Linked DNA regions of Homo sapiens: region 1 is linked to region 2. The links are contacts of gene promoters, found by promoter capture Hi-C in blood cells and fetal thymus (Javierre and others, 2016). All regions are on one chromosome and are shown on one strand. Each heading gives the region's core, a stretch centred on a gene start or on the middle of the fragment in contact. The rest is flanking DNA. Distances are from core to core; before and after follow the strand shown.

Region 1 (2,700 bases), core at 93-2,592, 1.5 Mb before region 2:
ATTATGACAGGTCTCCATGTGTCAATCTCTTTAAATTTATCCTACTAGGAGTTTATTAAGCTTTTTAGTTGTGTAGATTAATGTTTTTCAACCACTTTGAGAAGTTATTGGCCATTATTTCTCAAATATTCACTCTACTCCTTTCTTTACTCTTCTCCTGGATCTTTCATTAAATCCTTTGGTACACTTGATAATGTCCCAGCGGTCCCTTAGGCTGTCTTCATTTTTCTTAATTCCTTTTTTCTTCTGTCCCTCAAACTGTATAATCTTCATTCACCTATCTTTGAGTATGCTGATTCTTTTTTTTTTTTTTGCATGCTCAAGTCTGATCTTTAGTTCCTCTTGTAAAGTTTTTATTTTAGTTCTTGTACTTTGAACTCCAAGATTTCTACTTAAAAAAATTTGTAACTATTTAATGACATTCTCTATTTTGTGAGACATCATTCTCATATTCCTTTTGGTTATTTATATATAGGTTTTTAAAGCTCTTCAAATATATTTAAATTAGCTGATTTTAAAAGTCTTTGACTAGTAAGTACAATATCTGAGCTTCTCTCAAGGATGGTGTCTATTGAGAGCCTTTTTCCTATGTATTTTTATCTTGCTTGTTTCTTTCCAAGTCTTATAACTTTTTGTTGAAAATTAGACATTACACAGGTTATAGTGTGTTATTTATGGAAATCAGATTCTCCAGTAGACTTTCCCAAAGTCTATCTCTCTGTCATTTGTGGCCATTGAATTTTCTACTCAACTTAGTGGTAAGCTTATAATTGGACAATGATTTTTGTTAAACACCTGGAACCAAGAAGTTTCTCAGTCTTTGTCAAAGGATTCTGTGTTTGTGTTGGGGCATGCCTTCAATAGTCAGCTGTAAAGTTGACAACTGTGTTTAGCCTTCATTTTCTGCTTGTATGAAACCTCAAGGTCAGTTAGAGATGAGAGCTTTGGAACTTCTCAGGCCTTTCTGCTTATGCATACAGCTTTACACAGTTCTGGGCATCTTCATTGTCATTTAGATTTCCAGTAATATTCCAGAGTTTTTCAAAGTCCCTTATAAGTAAGAAGACATTTTATTCTTCAGTTTTCCTTTTATGCTTTCATTTGGTCTTCAATTTGCCCTGCTATCTGTTGCCTCAGGCACATGTGACGTTAATATATTTGATAACACTCCCTGGGGATAGGCTTGTAGCACTAGATACATGCAAATGAGGCTGAAAAAGAAAAGCCATTCAAGTAGGGTTATGCAGGGAACCACCAGACAAGTCAAAATAATGACTCTTCTTTGGAAATAAGGCTTTTGAAGAACTGTATTTCTGCTGTACTCCCTCTAGTGCCAAGAATATGGAGTATTATGTTTTGAAAGCTATCGATGAGCTGTGGAGCTGGAGATGAAACTAGTGTAAATTAAAATAACACAAATCTTATATCTCTTACTGCTATCTATTTATTTCTCTCGACTAAATGTTTTCAAGGCTCCTGTTGGTTAGTTTCCAGAGTTCTGAAAAAAAAATAATTCTCACAAGTTTTGCCAGTTTATTCTATTTTTATGGAGGGGCGGCCTATCTCGTGTCCTTCCTCTACCTTTTATTTTATTTTTTTTCTGGTATCTTGTCTTCATTTTTTAAAGATAGTTTTCCTGGGTATAAAATTCTTGGTTGGCAGTTTATTTCAGCACTTTTCAATGACATCTTATTGCCTTCTAACCTCCATTTTTTCTGATAAGAAGTCAGCTGTTTCACATGTAAACCACATTTTTCTCGTGCTGGTTTCAAGATTTTTTGTGATGTAGGGCACAATTTAGTCCACAACAGTCACATTTTGAGGTTCTGGGTAGACACATATTAATATTTGGGGAGACAGTCTCCAATTTATTAACCCCTCTAGTGAATAATTAACATCAGTTAATGTACTTTTCAACTATAAAGCTTCTATTTTGTTCTTCTTAAAATTTGTATTTGTTTATGGATAATGTTTCTTTAGGGAGATATTGTCATCATGCTTTTATTTCTTTAATCAGGATTTCCTTCATTTCTTTCAACATATTTAGAATATTGGCTCTTAATATTTTTTCTGCTAACTCTGACATGGACTCTTGCACAGAAAGTTTCTTTTGCCTGCTTTCCCCACCCTGTGTATAGCTCATGCTTTCCTGTTAATTTTCATGTCTCATGCTTTCCTGTTACTTTGCATGTCTCATATTTTGTGTTGAAAATGGATATTGTAGATAATTATAGCAGCTCTGAAAACCAAGGCTTGTTGTTGTCACTGGTTGTTTAGTTAGTTGGCTAGTGACTTGGCTGAACTGTTTTATAAAATAAATTTCCCCTAAGTTTGAAGCTTTTGATGTTGCTCATTGGAGAGTGCAGCCTTGGACTACAGTGGTTAACAACCATTGGGCTTATAGTGGTTTTAGCAGGGCTCATTTTAATGGTCTCTTTCCCTGATCTCTATGGTAAGCTCTCCGCTTCTGTTAGTATCACACCCAGTTCCTAGACTACACTAGCAGGCTGCCTATTATTGTTTTTTATTATGCCTGAGTTATCTATTGCTCCACAGTATTACGCAATTAAATTTGGGCCCCTTTGTAAGAGTGGTTTCTAAGACCAGTCTTTGCAGTTTGTTCTGTCCCTAAGAGAACGGTTATTAACTGTACTTTTTCTGGTTCACTATGGTAAATTCTGACTTATGGTTTATCTTGTT
Region 2 (2,700 bases), core at 114-2,613:
CATCAAATTATGGCCATGTCTCTCCCTGCCTCCCTTCCATAACACAAACACATCGCCTTCTCCCTCAAAACAGTAAAACCCACACCTCCCCATTTCACAACAATCACAATCCCATAACCACCAGCTTCTCTATTCTCTAGCCTTGAAAGAAAGACACAGAATACACACAAATACAGGAACAAAAGGCCTCCCTTCCTAACACTTTAACGACCTCCATCCCCTTCTCTTCCTCCCACTCTGACGCTAAGTCGATCGTTCTCATCCCTGTCATCATTCAGTTAATTTCCTTCCCTAGCCCAATCCTGTCTTCCAGTTTCCTGCGTCTATTTCCCATTCTCCTATTGCAGCCTGCCTCATCCCCTTTCCTAATCCACCTTTTCCTTCACTTCCATTCCTCATTTCTCCCTTCATTCCCATAAAATGCCCCATTTCTCCAGCAAATTTATCCCCTTCTCCCAGACTCTTCTGGTTCCTACACTCCATCCCCAAATCTCCCTATTTATCAGTCCACCCAGGTCTGTAATCTCCATGCAACTCTTCTCCCCTTTCCCTGCCCCTCCCCGATCCATCCTTATCCCCGCCCCCATCCCACTTTCCCAATTCCCAGCTCAGCGCCACTCCGACTCCCATCCCACTCCCCACCTCCCCTGGCCCACCCCCCAATTCCCTCCACACCCCCCACCTTGCCATCTGCTCCTCCGTCAGGACTCCCCTCGAGCCCTTTCAGGCCACCCGCTTCCCCTTCCATTCCTCCTGGGGTCTGGCGCTCCATCCCTAGGTCGCCCCCTCCCCGTCGTTCCCTCCTCAGCCCTTCCTAGCACTACACACGCGCGCGCGCGCACACACACACACACACACACACACACATACACACACGCACACGCACTTTACCTTCAGTTTGTTCCATTCTAACCCCCCGGCCGTGTCAGTGCGATCACAGGAGAGACACGGAGGCCCGGAGTGGGGCTGGGGTGCGGGCAGCCGCTGGGGCCGCGCGAGGAGGAGGCGGAACCGAGCTAGGCCGCATGAAATCCCCGGGCTAGATTTTCCCCGCGCCGGACGCCTCTGCCATGGCGGCCGGCACTGAGGAGGGCCACGGCCGGGCCGGGCCGGGCGTGCTGCGGGAAGAGGAAGGCTCGGGAGGTGGGATGGGAAGGGGAGGCCGAGGGACGGGGGTCGCCGCGCCGCCGCTGCTGCCAGAGAGGAGCCTGCGGCTGGCAGCCCGGCCTGGGTAGCACGGTCCTCGGCGCTCGGCTCGGAATTCGCACGCCTCTCCGCGGCGACCTGTGCACAGCCCCCTCGGCCTCCGCCTCCGTGCTGGCCGCCGCCGCCGCCTCTCCCGCCGCCGCCGCGCACAAAGCCCCCCCACCCCGACTCTCGGGGCGCCGCCGCCGCCAAATCCTCAGCCCCTCATTGGCCGCGGGCCGCGGCGCCTGCCGGGAAATGCAGTCCCTGGTTCGGGACGCTGGGGCTCCGGAGGAAGCGGCGAGTCGGCGGGGCGGAGGGGGCGGGAGCGCGAACCAGGAACGCCCGCGGCAGCTAGCGTCTGGACGACTAGGGAGACCGGGCGAGAGGGCCGAGGAACGAGGGACGGGGAGGGACTGTACGTGGGAGAGTGACACACAAAACACCCCGGGAAGCCGGAGGAGGCGTGGAAAGGTGGGGCCCGGGAGGTAAAACTGGGATCGGCGCGTTCAGTGAGGCTGATTAAAGAACAACGCGCAACCAGCGCCATACGGCGCTCCTCAGGGTGACTCGGCTCTCTAGCTCTTAAGGGTTAGAAGCGACCCTCGCACGGTCCCCGGTGGGTCACCGCGCGAGGGCGGGGCAGTCCAGGCGACCCCTCGGCCGTCTCCCGTCCTACGGCTGTCAGGGAAGGGCTCCGGTTCCGGTAGGGTCTGCATTTGGAAAGCCGGGGGCGATGCAAGACCGCCTTGGCGTCGTCTCCCTCTCAGCCCCGGCTGAGCTGTCGGATGGTCCCCCTCCCCCGGTTGCAAGCAGTAGGAGACCCGGCCGGCGGCGCCGGCTCGCCGAGGGAGCGCCTCGACCTCCCCGGCAGGCGCCGGCCCCGCGCGCCTCTTCCTGCTCTGCTGCGGCCCGGAGGCTTGTGGGTAACCGGGAGGACGACGTCAGCGCCCGCCGCATCCCCGGGTGCCCCCCAGCCGCGGGGGACCGCGACGGCTCCGTGACCGTCACGTGCCGGAGGCCGCGGCTGCTCGCGGCCAGACCTTCGCATCGAGGGACGTGAGGGACATTTGTCCTAGAGGGCCCAAGATAAGAACGAGAGGAAGAACCGGGAGGCAACTCTCCGTCATCCTCTAGCCCCCCGCATCCTAGGAAACGTATGGAAAACAATGGAAGGTTAAGTGTGTGCACAGTGATCTGGCCCTGCAGGAGTGTGCCGACCAGGTGATATTTCCTGGGGCCTGGTGATAAGGATTTGGAAGGTTACAGCACAGAGACGTGAACGTAAAAAGGAAACAGAGGCAGCAAGCAAATGAGGAAACCGATACTCTGTTCTGAGAATAAAGCCATTTTACCGCTAGACGTCATACTCTGTAGACGTTATAGTGCTGGATGTCTTTGGTACTATTACAAGAAATTAGATATCTCTATCTTTAAATATCACTTAAGGAAATTAAATGATTTCTACAGATCAGTTATTTAAAAGGGCACTAATTATGAACTATTTTTTTTAAA

What was found. Contacts are between HindIII fragments. The CHiCAGO score rates a contact against its expected background, and 5 or more counts as called.
Region 1: a fragment that was not itself captured here is called in contact with the fragment with the promoter of NSD3 in region 2 in 1 of 17 cell types (M2 macrophages); the score reaches 7.5 in M2 macrophages.

What each region holds. Positions count from the first base shown.
Region 1 is chr8:36,854,174-36,856,873 of GRCh38, forward strand. All of the region lies in intron 18 of KCNU1 (potassium calcium-activated channel subfamily U member 1), which reads left to right. Among named protein-coding and RNA genes, the nearest start is that of KCNU1, 71 kb to the left of the region's middle. The HindIII fragment of the contact is 1,162 bases long and covers 762-1,923 here.
Region 2 is chr8:38,380,908-38,383,607 of GRCh38, forward strand. NSD3 (nuclear receptor binding SET domain protein 3) reads right to left here and starts at 1,364. Exons shown (of 24, transcript NM_023034.2): 1 at 892-1,364. It also overlaps a transcript of LETM2 not described here. RefSeq lists enhancers at 1-421, 712-1,502 and silencers at 1,151-1,550, 1,581-1,730, 1,921-2,270. The HindIII fragment of the contact is 5,398 bases long and covers 1-2,700 here.